Regions from separate parts of the Homo sapiens genome. Here all the other regions are linked to region 6. Evidence: promoter capture Hi-C in 16 types of primary human blood cells and fetal thymus (Javierre and others, 2016). All regions are on one chromosome and are shown on one strand. Each heading gives the region's core, a stretch centred on a gene start or on the middle of the fragment in contact. The rest is flanking DNA. Distances are from core to core; before and after follow the strand shown.

Region 1 (2,991 bases), core at 153-2,652, 1.2 Mb after region 6:
TTCAGACAGCTTTGTGAAAATTTGCATGGAGTTCACATCTTCTTTTATAATATTATCCATTAACTCATTAACTTTATTTGTTTCATAGGTAATAGATGGTTTCTCTATAGAACTAAAGCTCTCAGACTTTTGTTCTGTTTCATTATCGATCTCAACAGAACTCTCTTGGGGAATCACTGGTGATGGTATATGTCCTGCCTCATATTCAACAGACTCAGATACTTCTATTTTAGGCAAGGGATTGATTTCTGGGGTAATATCTAAAAGAAGAGACTGAGAAAGAGTTTGAGAATGGCTTGGTTCAAGTTCAACTGCATCTACAGTGTGATTCACCAAGTCATCCTGGTGCATACTACTACTTAAATCACCCAGAACAACAGTTTCAGCTTCCCTTTCTATATTCGTATTTTCCAATTCTCCACTCAGAGGTTGCAATACTGAAACATCTACTGATTCCGCAGGAAGTAGTAAGGGTGGTTGAGCTAACACAAGATAATCTTTTCCTTTACTCAAAGCAGTTCGGCTGCGCTGCCGATAAAGAGCAACTCTAACTGAACACCATTTATATATGTATTCTGAAAAACTAGAAATACAACAAATTGTGGTCAGTTCACTGCAAAATATTTGTGTCTCTGACTCAAACCAGGGTGATGATTCATCTTCCTGTTCACCGCTGCCCAGAAGGGTCACTGTAGATGGACTTGCCTCCTCTTCCTCCTCTTGAACTAACTGTACAATGGGACTCTCTTTTGGAGTATCTGGTGTTGACGGCTCCATGTCATGTGTGTGTACTTCAGTGGTTACATACCTAGAAATACATATATCATAATTATAAATCACTTACTTAGAAGTCTAAAGTTGAAATATGTTAAAGAAAAATAAATGTATCCATACAGAAGATAAAAGGTTGGAAATATAGAAGAAATTTGTTTTTGGATAAATGTTTCACCTACAAAACACTTTTATTATAAAAACAAATACTGCTCAGAAATGATAAGAGAAATACTATTTATCAAGTGACTAGCCAGATGACTCAAACCACCATATTTACCATATCAAACTTGCTTTCTTTTAATCTGTTTAAGAATTGTTTCTAAGTGAATACTTCCATTCACTGAATGTAGTGTTCCTTTCCTCTCATAAATATTCACTGAATCTTTACAAGCTTCACTATCCCTTACACATCAGAAATTAAGCCAACTAAGAGCTAGCTTAATAAACTAGCTTAAATAAGGTCCAGAGCTAAAACTAGAATCTAGGATTCTTAATATTTATGAGTGCACTTTGTACTTGAATACCCTATTTTCAAAAGGCAGCTAGGTTGGTCTCAAACATAATTTTTCTAAGAATGATTTGAGGAACTCCAATACAGCATTAAACACACAACGCACACACACACCTACACACATAGGATTATCTACTTTAAGGACAAGAAACATATCTCCCTTCCTAAAATAATTTTGCTATCATCTAGGCTAATCTTCTAAGCCAAATACCTAACCACTTTAATAACAATTCTGGCTTATGATATGCTAACAGTGCTGCTATTAAACTACTAGTGCCACTATTAATATTCTATCCCATTTTGAGGCTGTGGAGTATGTATGTGGCATACAGGAGAGTGGGGGGATGAAGCTTATGGGGACAGTGTTATAAATTATAATGCTTGTGATTCCTTCCAAGATAAAGATAGTTAATTACTGGGTGTAGCCTTATACATAAAAAGTCCAATATGAAAAAATATGGTAATTTCAATACCAAAAATAATTATGCTCAAACACACATTTTCCCATTCTGAAAAATTACTAAGCATGCCAGGAAATGTCTTCAAATAAAGACTAATGTCACAATAGCAAAGACAGAAGAAAGTAATAAAATAGTATCTATGATGTAGACTTTCATTTTGGTAGTAAAACAGTAAATGGACCAAATTAAAACATAATTAGACTACACTTCGGTAAATAAAAAGATATTTATAGCCATATATATTTAGTCTCTAATAATATTTCTTACATATTCAGGTAATATATTGCTTTTCTACCAAATAATTTATGACAGTAAAAACAAGTAATGTCTGAAGAAGGGGAGAGAGAAAAATTATATTGAATTTGGTAAAAAATACTGAATACAGATGTTATATCCCATCATACACACTGTAATCAGAAATATACTTTAAAAGTTTTTTCTCAAATTCACATGGCAAAACCTACTAAAACCTAGGAAAAGAAAATAAGTTGGCTTTCCGTAACTTTAACAGTGACATCCTATCATGGATTCCTTCATTTTCACATATTTGCTTCAAAAGATTACTTCAAAAGCATTAAAAAGAATTTAAGACAAACATGAAGAAATACTGAATAAGAAATTATGCAAAAATATCTATTAAAAAACTAATATGGAAAAATAAAAACTGCTACGTTAGCCTGTGACTACAGCTTTCAACAAATATTCCTACTTGTGCACATATGTGTATGAAAGTGTGTACATATATATATAAAAAACCAAATCAGTTTTATTTAGTTTTGAAAAATACGACATAGCGTGTTGTTAACTGAAGAAACCTAGTTACAAAATCAGGAACAGCAATCACAGCTCCACATAATTAGAAACACCAAGAATGTCTCTATCCCCAATAGATTTCTTAGGTCCTTTTCAGAATCAATAACACATACGCTATATTTTCTAATTACCCAATAAATATCTCCAGTAACTTTCAGGATTAACACAGGATAATATAATTTTCTCACTATGCCTTTCAAAGCATCAAAATATCATTTTTGAAATAGTATAGTTCTCAGGAATTGCAGTTCAAAGCATACCCACTGCAGGTCTCATTACATACTATCTTGAACTAAGTGGTTCATTTCAAATATCTTATACTCTTTAAGTAGAGTTGTTCTAAGATAAAGGACTTGCAAAGTTTTGTAGGGAGTGTATCTAATGAAATATACATAAATTAAGTCTACAATAACTACCTGATTATCCAAATCA
Region 2 (2,843 bases), core at 212-2,711, 1.3 Mb after region 6:
TCACGTGACTTTCTATATTTGTGTTGATTCTTTCCTATTCTAAGACTTCAGATGAAATAAATAGAAGTTCCATAGAGCTGACCTTTAAAGAACTGGTAGACATTTTTCCACATATCTGTTAAATATAATGAGAAAAAGAACAGAGAAAATTTTCTTACAACTCAATAGACAAGTATAAGAAAGTGAGTAATAGTTATATAAAATAAAACTAGTATAGATGAATGTCACCATACTTAAAAGTATAACATATGCCAAAAATGGCAAGAAAGAATATAGAAAAAGAGCATGTATAATGTATAATCTTTCATATATAATATTTAATTATATATATAATCTTTTAAGGCTTAGGCTAAGTAACCACTATCAACCACCCCTTAACTATAATACAGTAATTCTCAACCTGGGGCAGACTTCCCCCCAGGGTGAGATTGGCATTGTGTGAACACATTTTTTGCTTGTCACATTGGAGAAGTACTACTGGCATCTAGTGAGTAGAGGCCAGGGATGCTGTTTCACATCCTACGGTGCACAAGAAAGCCCTCCACAACAAAAATTATTTGGCCAAAAAGTCAAAAGTGCCAAGGTTGAGAAACCCTGCTGTAACAGAATCTCCCAATTCAATAAAATCTATAAAGCACTGACCACACACAGGATAACTCGTTTGCCCTGCAGATCCTTGGATTATTCAGCAAGTCACTAGGGCCTAAACTGCACAATGAACATGAGTTCTCCCATTCCTAAAAGGGTGACTAAACCAGAAACTCTGGGCAGCTCAAGTCCCTGCCTTGATAAAGATCAGATACTCTGTTTGCTTATGGTAAAAGAGAACAAGCAGACCTTAGAAAAGGAACCAACCCCTTCTGGCTATCTCGTTTGTTCTTTATCTCATATACAAATCATATTTAAGACACCCAAGAGAACTGTGTTGTCTAAGATGGTGGTATTTCATGAGCAAGCTTTTATGTATTTTGATTTAGTTGAAAAATTACCTGCTCCTTTCAATATTACAAAATGCTGAGATCCTATATGTCTCCAAAGGATCTTAGAGACCAATGACATTTAGATGCTTCCAGAGTAAAAGTCAGTTAAAACAGAAGTTTCCTGGAAATCAGTCAAAGAAAGGTTGGGGAATGGAAAACAGACAAATGGACAATAAAAGAGACTAAATAAGATGGAAAAATGGTGAATGTGGCAATCAGCACTTAACATTTTAACCGCATAAAAAGTATAAACAGAACTTTTAAAACTGTCCCCCCGATCATCTTCTTTATATATATAAATATGTGTGTAGAATAGCATATACCTTCTTTATTTAGTTACTACCTACCTGAAAAGAGCCTTAACTACTTAGCCTAATCTACCTTAACAGAGCACTGGTAATTTGGCCACTTCAGGAGGTAAAGGTAGAAATCAGAAGAAGACATAGATTGCTTTATTAGTACAGTCTGAGAACTCAGTCTCTTGAGGGCGGGAAGATCTGAGGGCGGGAAGATCACAGAGTGCAATGTTGGCATGCACGGTTCTGTTTTTACTGCAAATAACAAAAGGTAAGATTTCCCTTTTTAAAAATTCTACTTTGTGATCCCAAATTCAGTCTTCTATCACTGCGTTAACATATGTTTATTTTGAAGATACATGAATTGAATAGGCTCATAATGGAATCAACTAGAGGAAGGGAATGATTACATGTGGGTGACAGAGAAGGAGACATCAAAGATGGTCCAATTTCTAAGAACGTATGTGCCATTATATGAGTAGGAAAGTCAGGAGTTGCAGATTTACAATTTAAGAGACTAGTATGGTTTTGGAAGCACAGTATTGAGGTTCTGGTGGAAGTATCTAGCAAGAATTTACAAGTACAAGATTCAAAATAGGGAGAGAAAGTAGCAACTGAAGCAGCATGTTGGGGATTGTAACTGATGCGTCCTTTAGTACCTCCTGTATAACGCTCTCAGATGAAGCTTCCTAAAACATTATCTTCATCATGTCCTTTCTTTGATGCAAAAATCTCCTACAGGTCTGACGTATTTGTGAAATAAAGTCCTGCCTCCTTGGCCTGGCATTCAAAGCTTTCCATAATCAAACCCAGTTGATGTAGTTCAAGCTTTATTTCCCACTGTTTTCTTTCATAACTCAACCTTCTCACCAGACCACACTGTTTATTATGACCTGAAACACCTGTGCCTGCCCTCATGACACTGTTTTTATTTAATAGTCATTTGTCTCCCCAAGCAGTGAATAAATTCCTTATTGCAGAGAGGTCATGTGTTTTATTGATATATATCACACAGTGACTTTTTTTATTACAGAGGCCCAAGAAATAATTTTTTACTTTTTACTTATTTCTTTGTCTAATCACCTTAAATTACAATTTGCCTTATAATTTAAATTCCTAGAAGTAGCAAGCCCTTAGGATGAGAACGTTTTATGCAGTTGACTAGTCTAGAGCACCTAGCCAACTATTTCTTTCTCTATAAATTACCAAATTAGCTTTTTAGCATAACATTATTTGACTTATGTCTGAATAGATTTTCCTAGGTTCTAGTTACCCTAAGTAACCTGGAGAAATAAAGTGTTCAGTAAATATTTATTGAGCCTTTTTTGTATTAAAGATGCTGAGACAGAAATTTGCTCCAGGAAAAGTTTAGCGTTCTAGCAGGGAGTCTTAATCTTCTGAACTGAACCCTTTTGGTAGTCTGGTAAAACCCTTTTCAGAATGTTTATAAAGGTATAAAATAAAACACATAGATTACCAAGGAAACTAATTGTAGGGAAATACAGTTATTAAAATATTACAAAGCAAATTTGTGATCTAATAAGGTGTGCTTTTTCATTAATGCATA
Region 3 (3,033 bases), core at 95-2,594, 1.2 Mb after region 6:
CAGAAGATATCATCCAAAATACAGCATAAAAAGTCAAAAAGGTGGAATGTTTACAAGACAGGGAAGATATACGGAGAAGTAATATGTTTAATTAAATATGAGAATCTAAAAGAGACTGGGGCACAGGGAATATCTGGGAGGAAAAAATAATGGTTGAGAATTTCTCAATAACAAGTAAAAGAAACCTACAAATCCAGAGCTCCAAAGAGCCTCACGAATCTCAAAATGATAAAGAAAAAGAAGAGGAGAATATTTCAGTTTTAACTAATGACAAATGAAAGCTCTGAAGAATAAAAACATTAGTAAACGTGGGGTAAATTTAAATGAACATTAAGTGTAAAAAGAAATACCTTGTTGAGTTAAAATTAAGCAGAAAGAATAGAATTAAAATATACAAGAACAGTAACATAAATAAGGCTTGGGACAAATAAGAGTTTTAAGATCTATGTATTGTTAAGGAGAAGATACAAGTATTGATGAACTTGAGACTTTGGCAAACATTAATACTTCTGACTTCTAGGGTAACTAGTAAAAGAACAGAACCAGTACACAACTTCCAACATAATGGCAGTAAAAGGGAATATTTACTTCCTCCCCAATAAAAAATCTTAATGAAAGCATGGAAGGGGAAAAAAAAAAAAAATTAAAAGGGATACCCCTGCCCATCTAATTTTTATAAACCTTACATACCAAAATCCAACATGAGAAAATATTACATGCCAATCTTATTCATATAGATGCAAAATTTCTAAATAATTATCTAACAAAATTATGTAGAAATAATATATACAATACAAAATTCACACACGTATATCATGAGCAACTGGTATTAAAAATGCAATATAAGTTTAACATTAGAAAATCTAATATAATTCATGTTTGTAACATTAAAAATGGAAATAAAATATAATATAAAAAAATTTATAGAATACCTATGACAATAGGTAACACATAATGACAAAATACAGAATAAAAAATCCACAAAACATCTATGACAAATACAATCTTAGCAATAAAACACTGTAAGCTTTCCCTTTGGAACAAGACAAAGATGCCTGTCAATCACTTTTATTTAACATTGCTGAAAATGCAAGCTAACACAGTTAAGAAAGCAAAGGAAATAAAAGCTATAAGGACTGCAAAGGAAAAAACAAAACTGTCTTTGTTCTCAGTATACGTACCTGTATTCACTGAAAATCCAAAATAATCTGCAAGTGAACTAGTAAAACGACACTGCTTATATAGAAAGTTCACCCTAAAATTCACATAAAATCTCAAGTGACCTCAAATAAGGAAAATAATTTTAAAAAGAATGAAGTTAGATAACTCACACTTCCAGATTTCAAAACACATTACAAAGGTATAGTAATCAAAGTGGTAGAGTACTGGCATAAACACAGACAAATACACCAATGGCACAAAATAAAGAACACAGAGATAAGCCCTCATGTACGTGGTCAACTCATTTTTAAGAAGGGTGCAAAGACCACTCAATGGGAAAAGGACAGTCTCTTCAACAAATGGTGCTGGAAAAACTGAATATTCACATTCCAAAGAATGAAACTGGACCCTTATCTTATACTATATACAAAAATCAACACAAAATAGATTAAAGACATAAATCTATAAAAGTCTTGGAAGAAAACAGGGGAAAAGCTTCATGACCTTGAACTTGATAATGATTTCTTGGATATGACCCAAAAGTACAGGCAACAAAAACACAATAGACAAATGGGACTTCGTTGAACTTAAAAACTGTACATCCAAGGACACAATCAAAACAGTGAAAAAGCAACCTAAAGGATGAAAGAAAATATTTGCAAATCATATTATCTAATGGGGGTTATAATCCATAACGGAGGTTATAAAGAATTCCCTGAACTTAAAAACAAAAAACTCAAACAATCCAACTAAAAAATGAGCAAAGAGATATCTGTATACCCCTGAACAGCACTACTCAAACAACAGCCAAGAGGGGAAGCAATCCAAATGTCCACTTACAGATGAATGGATAAAGGAAATGAGGTACATAAATAAAATGGATGGAATATTATTTCACCCTTTAATAGGAAAAAATTCTGTCACATGCTATAATGTAGATGAACCTTGAGGACATTATGTTGAGTGAAATAAGCCAATCACAGAAAGACAAATACTGTATGAATCCACTTATATGGGGTATCTGAAGTAGTTGAATTCATAGAAACAGAAAATAGAATAGTGGTTGCCAGGGACTGAGAGAGGGAGAAAAGGGGAATTGGTTAATGGACACAGAGTTCAGGTTTGCAAGACGAAAACATTCGGAAGATCTGTTTCACAACAATGTAACTATACTTACTACTAATGAACTGTGCACTTAAAAACTGTTAAAATGATAAATTTTATGTGCTTTTTATCACAATAAGAAAAAGACATGGTCTCTCCCACAGAGCTTAGAAGTGAAAATAAGGCAAGTAAAAATAGGTAAAATCAAAGCATACTATGATAAATGCCATAACAACAAGAACTTATCAAACAACAGAAGAAATAAATGAATTAACTATTGGTAGAATCAGGACTAAAGTCAGTCTCCTACCTACTCTACTCAACTTTCTTTACTGGTAAAGATACACCAAGATGACACTGTTGTTTAAAATAGAAGTAATTCTATTATCAGGTGCAAAAAGCTACTCTGTTTGGCCCTAAAAAATTGGATAAAGAGAAGAGAAATAGTAAGATAGTCACGATTTCACTTAAGACTAGAAATGCTGAGAAGCAAAAATCTAACGTATTTCCTAATTGCATGGGTATACCTCAAATAAGGAATGTTTAGAATATGAAGTAACTGTAACTCTCATACGCAGCTGATAGAAGGGCAAATTCATAAAACAGTGTGGAAAATTGTATGACAGTATTTACTAAAGCTGAACACACACATACCCTATGATTCACCAATCCCATTTCCAGTGTATACCCAACAGAAATGCACAGGTGTTTACCAAAAGTATGTAACAACCTCAAAATGAAAATAATCTAAATGTAAATGAATAATGT
Region 4 (2,843 bases), core at 322-2,821, 1.3 Mb after region 6:
CGGACGGGCTCCTAATTTTTCGGCCGGGGCGGTGCCCGGGCGGGGGTTCTCCTCACTTCTCGAACAGGGCGGCTGGGCAGAGACGTTCCTCAACTCCCAGACGGGGTCGCGCCCGGGTAGAGGCGCTCCTCACATCCCAGACGGGGCGGCGGGGCAGAGGCGCTCCCCACATCTCAGACGATGGGCGGCCGGGCAGAGAAGCTCCTCACTTCATAGATGGGATGGCGGCAGGGAAGAGGCGCTCCTCACTTCCTAGATGGGATGGCGGCCGGGCAGAGACGCTCCTCACTTTCCAGACTGGGCAGCCAGGCAGAGGGGCTCCTCACGTCCCAGACGATGGGCGGCCAGGCAGAGACTCTCCTCACTTCCCAGACGGGGTGGCGGCCGGGCACAGGCTGCAATCTTGGCACTTTGGGAGGCCAAGGCAGGCGGCTGGGAGGTGGAGGTTGTAGCGAGCCGAGATCAGGCCACTGCACTCCAGCCTGGGCACCATTGAGCACTGAGTGAACCAGACTCCGTCTGCAATCCCGGCACCTCGGGAGGCCGAGGCTGGCGGATCACTCGCAGTTAGGAGCTGGAGACCAGCCCGGCCAACACAGCGAAACCCCGTCTCCACCAAAAAAATACGAAAACCAGTCAGGCGTGGTGGCGCGCGCCTGCAATCGCAGGCACTCCGCAGGCTGAGGCAGGAGAATCAGGCAGGGAGGCTGCAGTGTGCCGAGATGGCAGCAGTACCCCCCTTATTCTTACAGTTCCTGAATACCTCTGCCTCATTCATCTGCCACTTCCTATTAATCCTTCAAGATTCAGCTCAGGAATTACCTCTTCCAGGAAGCCTTCTCTCATCTCCTCTTGCAGTTACGCATCATCACTCTTTCAATAACACCCTTTCAACAGTACTTTTTATACCATTTCATAATTGTTTAACCAGATCTGCCATTTTTTGCTTTTTGTGACCTCCTCAAAAGGAAAGGAAGGCATTTTGTCCTCAGTTTTGCATAGTATCAGCACTAATCAATCATAAAAGCTTATTAAATTATTATATGTCAATGTAACCCTAATGTAAAAGCTTAACATAATATGCATATATATGTAGAATGTACTTTTTAAAATTGTGTATAACTCACCAAATTTTAGTGCTGCAAGGATTCAACATGTAAAGATCCATATTTTCTATAAGAATAGCAGATGTGCTCTATTTTAAAAAGAGGAAAGGAAACAAATTACTTAAGGAATAATGAAGAAAGTATTTATTTTAACTTTAAAGTTTTCTGGGACTTCTGTATTTTTAGATCTTAAGTACACCTAAGACTTTAAAACACTCACTTGGGAAAAAAGCATAAAAGTGGCTAAGATTCACCATTCACGGCAACAGCATTAAATTAGTGTTACAATGATACATTTAAAATTCAATGCCTGTTACTTTAAAGAAAAAAATAATATTTTAGTTATTTCCTTTTTAAAATTTCATACGGGTTTTAAAAGTTAAAAAATGCAGGGCAAAATACATCAGCCAATATAAGTAAGAATTCATACAAGATAATGTTTTGAAAAGTATATTCTGCTTTTATTAGTGAATAAGGAAAATATCTCACATTAAAATATAGTTCCCAGTAAACAAATAACCTGTATTTTAAAAAGTCGTTAATTTCCTATATATACAAAATTTTATATTTAAACACCTACCTTGGCTTCTGGATTAGCTGCTAGAATTTTGGCACCACATTCTACTGAGGCATAATTATTTCGATTTTTCTGGACCTTTTTGGTGGCATGTGAACCTCCATTAGAAGATGCATGCATCGACTGACCTGCAGACAAACCGTTATTATAAATATTTATATATATATTTGATGATTATGACTGAAAATACCTCTAGCAACACTGATCTCCAAAGCAATAAGCTGTCTTCTAGAAAAGAATAGGTTTTAACACTTGAGAGAATATTTTAAAAATTCATAAAAAAATCAAAGTGCTCCACCTCAATAGCTTAAAATATCCCCCCAAAACAAATTAACTACAAAATTCTACATTACTTATGTCTAAGTAACATAACTCACAAAATGAAGCTTGTCCATGAGAATCAAAGCTTTCTGTATTTATATCTATTATAAACATCTATTAAGGATGTATTTCTTACATTATTTTATTGTTTTTTTTTTAAGCTCTGGGGTACACACGCAAGATGTGCAGGTTTGTTACATAGGTAAACATGTGCCATGGTGGTGTGCTGCACCTAATAACCCATCACACAGGGAATAAATTATAATTTTAGTCACCCTCCTCTGCCTCATAACATAAGCAAGCTTTTCTTTAGGTATGTTCTTGAAACATCATATGTAAAACACCTTTTGGTAAGTTAAAGAATATTTTAAACCCAAGGATTTTATGCAAGTTCTTTTTGAGTTCCATATGAATTTTAAAATAGTTTCCATGCCTCAATTTTCCTCGTATTGTGATGAAAATCACTGCTATGCCTTATTTTATGCTCACTTAATAATTTACAAGAATGGATTTTAATTAAAACTAAAACTGTATGTAATTATATACAGGTACATGATGGATGGATGGATCAACAGCAACTTGGTTAAGTTTCACCTTTAAAAAGTTTTCAAAAGTAAATTTTATTTTGTTTTACCAATCAAAAAAAGAAAGCATATTAAACTACACCATATACTTAAAAAAAAAATTTAAAGAACTCAAATACTTCCTTACTTTTTTCTTTTTCTACTTCCATAACTTTCTTCTTCCATTCATCAAATGTTGGTATATCTTCTGGATCTTTGGGACTTGCTACTGATGTAGGGTCAATGTCTCCTGGTTTTGTATAATCAGAGCTCTGA
Region 5 (2,984 bases), core at 44-2,543, 1.2 Mb after region 6:
ATCTGCACCCAGATCTTTGTCCGGAATCCAGGAGGAATCAGGTCACATGAATGAATCGAAGATCGTAAATGTGGAGGAATTTATTGCCAATAAAAGTGCCTCTCAGTGGGATGGGGAACTGGAAAGGGGATGGAGTGGGAAGGTAGTCTTCTCCTGGAGTTCGGCCGTCCCCAGCCAAACTTTTCTCCAAGGTCCCACTGTCAAGCCGTTCCTCTGAAGTCAAGCTGCTTCTCTCCGACGTTTGGCTGCTTCTCTTCTCTCCTTCTCTGCCACTCTGCCACTCTGCCATTCTGCCGGTGGAGCCTGGGTTTTTTATGAGTACAGGATGGGGGTCAAGGTGGGCCAGGTTGGTTTTAGAAAAGGCAGCATTCAGGGGGGAAACGAGGAATAGATGTTCTCACTTTGGGCAGCAGGTCCAGGCTTGAGGGTGGGGCTTTGCCAGGGACCCCACCCTTTTCTGCCTAGTATTTCCCTAGTATTGCCTCCTGTCTGTATCAGTGCCACTCTTCTGTGTTCCTGCATAAAACTTCCCGCTCCTGGACAAGTTCTGTTTGTATCTGAGCTAGTATAGAAATGTGGGCCTCTGAGGATGTTGGCTTCCCATTTCTTCCTCATTGAATACTTTGTGACTTATTGCCAGAATTTTGAAAACAGCCAGATTGAAAAAAAAAAAAAAAAGTCTGGTGTGATTTTTGCTGTGTCCTGCAGGTCTCTCTTTAGGGATATGTGATGCAACACCAAAGGGAGGCTTAATCAATTTTTTTCTCTCACCCTCCATTCCCTTACCAAAAAAGGAAGCAAGATCTTGAAACACATTGTATTAAACTAGGGGTTTTAAGCCTGTTTGGGAGTGACAGAGCCTTTCATTAAATTGATGAAAGATTCCAAGAAAGATAAGACTTCTGGAAAAAACTTCTACAAAAATAAGAACAAATGGAAATGTTTGCAAAGAATTTCATGTTTCTCAGATACTCTCTGCTAAGCCCAGATTAAGAACTTCCATTCTAGACTGCTGATTCTCAAAGAGGCCCTTGTAACAGTAAGAGAAATCTAACATAACTGACTCCATCTTGTTTCTAACCTCACAAGCTGACTGCCTTTGCTCATCCCTGCATGTAGGCCAAGCTAACTATGGCAGGAATTTAGTTTATAGTTCAAAGCAAGGATGAAAATAGTCCCTTTTGAAAACTAAGCTTAAAGGAGATAAGGAGGGTGTATGCACAAGCAACAATGTTATGCCAAGATTTACAGGAGCACTGTGACCTGACCAAAGACAAATAACTTTTGCAACCTCCTTGGACTCCAGCTGATGCTCGTGTGTCTGTGGTCACGAGTCACCTCCTGACTTTAACGTCCCCTTGTTCCCCCTTCCCCAACATAAAAAGAAGCTTGAGATGTATGCCTTTTAAGATGGTTCTTTAGGACATTAGTCCATCTTCTCGGCTTGCTGGCTTTCCAAAATAATAAGTAAATAGAGTCTCCTAAAAAAATAAACTCTCTTTCCTTGCCCCAACACCTTGTCTCTTGACTAACTGGCTGTTGCGCGGTGAGCAATACCAGCTTTGGATGCGACTACGCCCTGAGAGGTTCCTCAGATCCCTGGGCAGTTAGGTTCAAATTCTATACTATACTCCCCTCCCACGCTGAGACACAGACCTGGCACCATCATCTGGGAAACCTTTTCAATAATGAGAAATGGATTCAACATGTGTCCTCAGTCTCATGTTACTCAAGGGAAATAATTCCCCTGGGTGGGCTATGCCTTTCGTCTGAAATCTTTTTTCTGTAAGAGACAGTTACCATGGAAGAAGGAAATTGTCCTGAGATAAATACCTATCAGGATTAATCTTGTCCTTGATTCAGACTTTTGAACTTAAGCTCCCTGGTCACTTGTATCTTTAGTTTCCTCTCTGTCAATTATTAAATACGATTTAAAACTAAGATCTTCTCATATTTACTTTGGATTTTTTCTATGTGCTCTATGGAGAAAAGCAATGAAGCAAGAGAGGAAGTGACTCACTTCTCTCCACTCCTTACCCAAAAGAAATTTAAAATTCCTAGGGTACCCATAGATTTTAGGAACAGAAGTTAATTCAGTCGATTAGCCCAGAATACAACCAATAAGGATCCCATAAGGATCCACGACCACAGCCAAAGACTGCTCCCCTCGCCCCAGCTAGCCATCATCTCAATCATAAGCCATCATCTCAAACATGGACACAGGGAAGGCTAGAGAGTAATTGGAAGCCTCATACATACCAAACCCCATGAGCAGAAAAACTCAAGATGGTGGCTCAGAAATTACATCTTCGTATGCTGAGAGAAAGCCAAGAGGAGATATAAAAATCTGATGACTTTCACCTTAGGAAAGAAACTGAAACCCATTTGGTCAGTGACCAATTGTCGCTATGAAGCTCACTGCACTTTATGCCTCTGAGCTTCTACAGACTCTTTCTGGACAAAATGTCCTCCTGTTGCCTACTCCTAACTCCTACCCATCCCTGACAATGCTCCTCACCACTGTTTCTGTCACCTGGTAAACTCCTGCTTGTTTTTCAAGACATACCTCAAGAGGCAGTTCCTCTGTGAAATCTGCCCTCCCCTGGTGGAATTATACCCTCCTTGTTCCTACAGTTTTAATCATGTCACTGCTAGAGCATTTAAACATGATATTATAGTAGTGGGTATTTGTTTGCATTTCTTGGTCCACTCTCCTCACTAGATTATAAGTTCCTGAGACTAGGGACTGTGTTTTATGCATGTCACATAACACCTAAAACAGCTCTGCCTGAAGCGCCAGCATTTGGTCATGGTGAAGCTTCAAAACTGCAAATGCAGCTATTAGGTTGGTGCAAAAGTAATTGCGGTTTTTCCATTGAAAGTAATGGCAAAAACTGCAATTACTTTTGCACCAACATAAAATTAATATTTCAGACAGAGATCTCCAATAATTCATTGATTATGACTTTTAGCTGAATTATGCA
Region 6 (2,936 bases), core at 261-2,760:
GCGCGATCTCGGCTCACTGCAAGCTCCGCCTCCGAGGTTCACGCCATTCTCCTGCCTCGGCCTCCCCAGCAGCGGGGACTACAGGCGCCCGCCACCACGCCCGGCTAATTTTTTTTTTATTTTTAGTAGAGACGGGGTTTCACCGTGTTAGCCAGGATGGTCTCGATCTCCTGACCTCGTGATCCGCCCTCCTCGACCTCCCAAAGTGCTGGGATTAACGACGTGAGCCACCGCGCCCGGCCGAAGAAGGATTTTTTTAAGGCATCAACCAAAAGCAGAGTATTCTATATATTACGTGGTTACCTTTTTGTGGTCTTTCTAAAAACTCAGGGAAAAAAAACTGCCGTATAATGAATATAATGAGAGTGAATTTCGCTTCTACACATAAGGCTATCCAGTTAAGAACAGGGGAAAAGCCGGGCGCGGTGGCTCACGCCTGTAATCCCAGCACTATGGGAGGCGGAGGCGGGTGGATCACGAGGTCAGGAGATCGAGACCATCCTGGCTAACACAGTGAAACCCCGGCTCTACCAAAAATACAGAAAAATTAGCCGGGCGTGGTCGCGGGCGCCTGTAGTCCCAGCTACTCGGGAGGCTGAGGCAGGAGAATGGCGTGAACCCGGGAGGCGGAGCTTGCAGTGAGCGGAGATCGCGCCACTTCACTCTAGCCTGGGCAGCAGAGCGAGACTCCGTCTCAAATAATAATAATAATAATAATAATAATAATAATAATGGGGGAAAAAATGAAAAATGGAATAAAAGCTCTCCGGCCGTAGATAACAGGCTGAAGTACTGTTCATAGGATAGATCTCTTCGCTATTTTCACCTGGAATTCTCCTCTGTGAACTCTGCAACAGACTTCTGTAGAGAGAACCCCAGATCGGTTGGGTGGTCCTTCTGATGGGTCTGGATAAACCCCTGTACAGCTGACTTAACCAAGAAGGGAAGTACATGTTGGAGCCACACGATGGCGAAAAACAATCACGAAATCCCACGCTGCCGGTAGTTAAAAGTCAGTTTTGGAAATACACAGAAATCCCTTAAAATTCCAGGAGTTCCCACTCTCTTCTCGAATATTTAAGGCCTCCTCCGCACAACATTGGAGTACACGTGTCTAGAAACAAGACAAATCTCCAAGGTCTCTGGGGTGCTTGCTGGGGTGGAGATAAGGGAAAGACCTCTCCCTGAGTCTTAAAGCATCAGTCTGCACTTCTACTCAACAAGTCGGCAGCCAAAAGTGACGACGAGAGAGCGACTCCACGTAGCGGCGCCAGGCGCGAGCCCAAGACAACCAGAGGCGGTCACAAGGTATACGCCCTTCTCCTCTTTCCACGCTTCTCGAGAGGCTCCCGCGGCCAGAACCGGAAAACAAGGAGTAACAGTCGCGTTTCAAATCTCGCAGACCTGCTGGCCGATTTCGAGTCTTCTGAAAGAGGAAGGCGAGCAAAGCCAAAATTCTCCCAGAGCGCGAACCCAAACACAGATCGCCGCTGGGGTCCAAGCGCCCTTCAACTCCGCCCGCTAGTGCCCAAGATTACCGGGAAGGAATTCAACGAATCAGTGGTGAGGTGCCGCCGCCATGCCTACTACGGGCGGAAATTTGAGAGAAAGCTTCGCACCGGTAGGAAAACTGAGGAGCAACCGAGCACGATTGGAAAGGTTGACGATAGTGGTTAAGTGGCTCGGCCTTGCCCTCAGTTAAAATGGCAATTTTAGTTGCTTCACTGATACGGAATCGGCGAGGCGCCAAGGAGGCTTCCTGCGTGGGGCCGCAGAGCGAGTCGGGAAACGATTTTAAACTGAAGAGGCGGCGGAGGGCCGAATTCCCTTTTCTCAACGGCTTGATTTCAGAGCTGGGCTGGTCTCTGACAGGCTCAGCTGGAGAGGGACGGGTTGGGACGCACTGTCCTTTTGCCCTTCCCCCTCCGCGAGCAGAAGCTGACTCCGCAGGAGCGAGGGTCGCAGAGCTGGGTGAGCGGAAATGTCCCTCCCAGAGTGAAGTCGCAGGGCCCGCCCCGCGTCTGAGGGAGCGGAGGTCTTCCTGGGTGCGTTTGTGTCTCTTGTGAACCCACTTGTGGAGCGAGAGGGAATTTGGGAGGGCCAGGGGTTAGTCTGGCCTCTGTCTTAGCTGTCATTTTGGCGGTTTTTTTTTTTTTTCTTCAGGGGATTTCAGTCTCCACATAGTTTTGGAGCCGGACTTTTGAAGAATGATTCGTGAATCCGGAATGGGTGACAGCGTCATCACGGCATTTTATTGGTAAAGATGCTTTGTATTGGTCCCGGACCTGCTTTAACTTTGTATTTGCCCTGTTGTGTGGTCATTATCTTACAATACTTGCGTGTTGAGGTGTGTTTAAACACTACGTGCTTAACACTGGCTAAGTATTGGCATTGGGGCGGTTGGATTTAGGTATTGGTGGCAATGTAGAAAAGTGATCAAGTCAGAGCCCCTTCACGGACTAATCACAAGAGAAACAACAAAGCTTTACTTGTGTGCTGTGAACCACAACTGCAAGTGGAATTGTCAAGAGAACTAGCCCTGCCAAGCTCAGGAAAACTTCTGAGGAGATGGCACATGGAAAATGGATAAGATTTACTGAGACAAACGGGAGTAGAGAAGTGTTTTTAATTGGCGATAAGGTGAATAAAAAGGCAGGGAGAACAGTAGAGTGATCATCTGTCTAGAGTAGGGGGTGCATGTTTGGGTATAGGGCTGTCATTTAACCTCTTAAAGAATTGTCTACTGGAACTTTCTTCACTCCCATCCCCCCACCCCCCAATGTTGTATACAAAACCTTAGAGGAAGTGTATGCAGAATGTTGGATTTTGGAAAGGCTAATGTCGATGGATCTTGGGGAAGAACTGAAGTAGTAGAAAATGAACCTGGATAGGATCAGATAATAAGATCAAATACAGTAGTGCCTTGAAAGCCAGAC
Region 7 (2,992 bases), core at 284-2,783, 2.0 Mb after region 6:
GAAACAGGAACCTTCTGCATCCCAAGTCACGAATGAGCCAAATAAAAAGAATAAAGTACAATCTCGCCAGCATTTTTTCTTGGATACTGTACATTTCTACCTGGTTTTCTATTACTAGGAAACAGATTTCAGTTTTCATAATGCTTTTAAATGGGCTTTTCTTAGCAAATGTCTGCACTCTTCAGGCAAGGCCATTAAGGTAACTTAATCCCTCATGAATTGCTCAGTGGAAGAAATGCTGATTCCTAATTCGAAAATTAATTCCTTAGCTGTTTCTGTATTAAGAGTCATGAGGAAAACCACAGCTACAATTTAGATTCAGAATGTTGTCTTGAAGGCTAGCAAGACAAATAGGAGCTTAGAGAACGGAAGATGATGCTGGGGGAGGGGGCGCAGAGAGAGTGCGAGAAAGATGCTGGTCAGTTCCGAGATGATGCAGGAATGACATGGCACCTGGACAACATAAGTCCACGTCCACCCCCTGCCAAGTCTGTGCCTCGGGCTCTCTCACAATTGCCTGAAGCTGTGAATAGGTGCACACGCAAACACACCACCTTTTATTCTTCGACTCTCCGGGAGGAGAATGGTGGGGAAGCGTCTCTGGATAAAGCTTCACCACAACAAACGACGTCTTTCTCCTCGCACCCCGCCTCCCCAGCTAGAGGCAGGCAACAGTAGACAGCTGAGAGGAACGAGAACCCTGGCGAGAAGGAAAGCATCTCCACCTAAGGGAGGGGGCTCGGGGGATAAAGCCCCACAGCCTCACAGGGAGCCTCACGGAGGGCGACAGGAAAAGGAGGGGGGTGTTGAGCTGGGAAAACAGGAGAGGGGCACTGGGAAGCTTTCGGCGCGCTACGCAGGGAGGCTGCCCGGGGCTGGCGCGCACCGAGGGGGTGGGGGTCGAGCCCGGGGCGGACCCCTCCCCCGACTCCCCGACTGGAGGACAGGGAGGAAATGGCTTTGTATCGCACGATGAAAGGCAGGCAGGAGGGCCACCAGGCGGGGGGTGGCAGGGGACGGAGGATGCCCAGAGCTGGAGGACCCCGCCCGCCCCACGGACACCGCCACTCTGCCCCCCATTCCACTCTGCCCCCCATTCCACCGCAGCGCCTGGTCCATCCACCCTCTGGCTCCCGCTGCCCGTCCACGTTCCAACGGCCCGCAGCGGGGTCGCCCCACTGCCGCATCCTTACTCCGCGCCCTGCGCGCTTACCTGCCCACGAAGTTCTCGAGCACCGAGCTCTTGCCGGCGCTCTGGCCGCCCACCACGGCGATCTGCGGCAGCTCCAGCAGGCAGCTCTGTCCCAGCGCCGAAAACGCGTCCTGCAGACGGTTCACCAGCGGGATCAGCTCCTCCATCTCCCGGTTCCCCATCTTGCCCGAGGGGCCGGCGACCAGCTGGTCCCTGCTCGCCTCTACGACCTGACAGGGAGTAGGGGCCGCGCTGCCCTGGCTGCTGCTGCTGCGCCGGGCTCAGCCAGCCAGGTCCTGGCGCAGACGTCGGAGCCCGCCGCCAGCCCGCCGCTTGGCTCTGACAGCTAACGACCCGCAGCGCGCCTGCGCGGGCGGGCAGGGGCGTGGCCTATCTCCGCGACGCCCCGCCCCCGCCCCGCGGCTGCCCCGCCCCGGGCTTCCCATCGGACCACCAGGCCAGGCGCGCACGCACTGCAGCCCAGCTGCGGCCAGATGCCACGGCCTCTGCGTTCTGTGGCCAAGGCTCAGAGGCCAAGTTACAGCGCCGGGTCAGGAAATGGCATGAAATCAGCAGCAGCGGCAGCGTTGTTCTCTTTCAGCGGCTACCAAGCCAAAGCCCAGTGGAAAGCACTATCGCCGCTAACACCACCACACGATCACCAGCAACAGCAGCACCGCCGCCGCCACCACCGGGGCACCGCTGCCAGACTACACTTCCCGAAAGGAAATCTCCTCTGTCACGCCCTTCTCCAGAATCCGCGATGACTCCTCCCAGGGTGGCAGGCCTGTTGGAGTCTAAATTCTTCAATGTGACATCCATCTAAGGCCCTGAGTGGTCTGACCTTACTTAATTCTTCATCTGTAATGACTCGTCCTCCCCAGCCCCGCATAAGCACAGGTAGAGTCTGTAGGGTTTACCGCCCCGATACACCCCTTTAATCACTCTGGCCTGTGAGACTCCTCATGCCATTTGCCCTCCCGGTCTATCTCCTTCTACCGGATCTATCCAGAACCAGGTACCCTGGACGCATTCTGTGAAATTTAGCACATTGAGAAGTGACTGTGTGTGGGGTCCTGTGCCTGATGATCGGGACACAAAGATAAATGGCCATGCTTCTCTTAGCCTCCACAGACGGTTCCTTTTTAGTCTGCTCCTCAAATACTGATGCTTCGCAGGGTTTCATATATGGGCATTTTCTTGTCTAATGTTTGTCCTCTGCCTGAGGACTTTCCCATAGCTTTAACTCTGAATCAAGGCTGGCGACTACAGAAATTTACATTGCTAGACCCTGTCTCTCTTCTGCAACTTAGACTGTACTCCAAGAGGAGCCCAGAATACTACCTGAGTGTCCTACAAGTACTACAGACTCAATTTATTCAAAACTGAAGTCATCTTTTGTAATCTCAGCATTTAATGTACAGTTCCTTCTAACTCTAAAAAGACATATTAAAATGTTCATAATGTCAAAAAACCTGAAAACAACCCAAATGTCTATCAACAGGTGAATGAATAAACAAACGTGGTATATATATATAGTGAAATAATCTCTGCCACAAAAAAGACTTTTGATATAGCAACAATCTCAGATACATTATGTAGAATGAAAAAGGCCAAAGACCATATTGGTTTGATTTCATGTATGTGAAGTTCTACAACCAGCAAAGCTATTCTATGGTAATAGAAATCGGAACTGTGGTTGTCTTTGAGGAGTGGAGATTGACTGTAGGAGGCATGAGGAAACTTTCTGGAGTGATGGAAATGTCCCATGTCTTGACTGGGATGTGGGCATACATTTGT

What was found. Contacts are between HindIII fragments. The CHiCAGO score rates a contact against its expected background, and 5 or more counts as called.
Region 1: a fragment that was not itself captured here is called in contact with the fragment with the promoter of DARS2 in region 6 in 1 of 17 cell types (naive B cells); the score reaches 5.4 in naive B cells.
Region 2: a fragment that was not itself captured here is called in contact with the fragment with the promoter of DARS2 in region 6 in 8 of 17 cell types (fetal thymus, naive CD8 T cells, naive CD4 T cells and 5 more); the score reaches 10.1 in fetal thymus.
Region 3: a contact is called between a fragment that was not itself captured here and the fragment with the promoter of DARS2 in region 6, in 1 of 17 cell types (naive CD4 T cells). The highest score is 5.2, in naive CD4 T cells.
Region 4: a contact is called between a fragment that was not itself captured here and the fragment with the promoter of DARS2 in region 6, in 3 of 17 cell types (total CD4 T cells, naive CD8 T cells and total CD8 T cells). The highest score is 6.5, in total CD4 T cells.
Region 5: a contact is called between a fragment that was not itself captured here and the fragment with the promoter of DARS2 in region 6, in 1 of 17 cell types (naive CD8 T cells). The highest score is 5.1, in naive CD8 T cells.
Region 7: the fragment with the promoter of DNM3 here is called in contact with the fragment with the promoter of DARS2 in region 6 in 4 of 17 cell types (non-activated CD4 T cells, activated CD4 T cells, fetal thymus and 1 more); the score reaches 8.6 in non-activated CD4 T cells.

Annotation. Positions count from the first base shown.
Region 1 is chr1:172,586,577-172,589,567 of GRCh38, reverse strand. It overlaps SUCO (SUN domain containing ossification factor), which reads right to left. Exons shown (of 24, transcript NM_014283.5): 18 at 1-808. Among named protein-coding and RNA genes, the nearest start is that of SUCO, 55 kb to the right of the region's middle. The HindIII fragment of the contact is 470 bases long and covers 1,168-1,637 here.
Region 2 is chr1:172,528,156-172,530,998 of GRCh38, reverse strand. No RefSeq gene overlaps it. Among named protein-coding and RNA genes, the nearest start is that of SUCO, 3.6 kb to the left of the region's middle. The HindIII fragment of the contact is 1,005 bases long and covers 959-1,963 here.
Region 3 is chr1:172,603,890-172,606,922 of GRCh38, reverse strand. The region is part of intron 22 of SUCO (SUN domain containing ossification factor); the gene reads right to left. Among named protein-coding and RNA genes, the nearest start is that of FASLG, 54 kb to the left of the region's middle. The HindIII fragment of the contact is 629 bases long and covers 1,030-1,658 here.
Region 4 is chr1:172,569,015-172,571,857 of GRCh38, reverse strand. It overlaps SUCO (SUN domain containing ossification factor), which reads right to left. Exons shown (of 24, transcript NM_014283.5): 7 at 2,716-2,839; 8 at 1,687-1,811; 9 at 1,128-1,195. Among named protein-coding and RNA genes, the nearest start is that of SUCO, 37 kb to the right of the region's middle. RefSeq lists an enhancer at 72-1,071. The HindIII fragment of the contact is 1,000 bases long and covers 1,072-2,071 here.
Region 5 is chr1:172,629,249-172,632,232 of GRCh38, reverse strand. No RefSeq gene overlaps it. Among named protein-coding and RNA genes, the nearest start is that of FASLG, 28 kb to the left of the region's middle. The HindIII fragment of the contact is 195 bases long and covers 1,196-1,390 here.
Region 6 is chr1:173,823,247-173,826,182 of GRCh38, reverse strand. It overlaps DARS2 (aspartyl-tRNA synthetase 2, mitochondrial), which reads right to left and starts at 1,510. Exons shown (of 17, transcript NM_018122.5): 1 at 827-1,510. The coding sequence starts at 953. It overlaps CENPL (centromere protein L), which reads left to right and starts at 1,300. Exons shown (of 6, transcript NM_001387287.1): 1 at 1,300-1,971; 2 at 2,164-2,257. RefSeq lists enhancers at 1-128, 770-1,287, 994-1,553, 1,288-1,806, 1,784-2,023. The HindIII fragment of the contact is 2,471 bases long and covers 1-1,613 here.
Region 7 is chr1:171,840,039-171,843,030 of GRCh38, reverse strand. It overlaps DNM3 (dynamin 3), which reads right to left and starts at 1,533. Exons shown (of 21, transcript NM_015569.5): 1 at 1,214-1,533. The coding sequence starts at 1,374. RefSeq lists an enhancer at 1,109-1,288 and a silencer at 1,489-1,718. The HindIII fragment of the contact is 4,190 bases long and covers 844-2,992 here.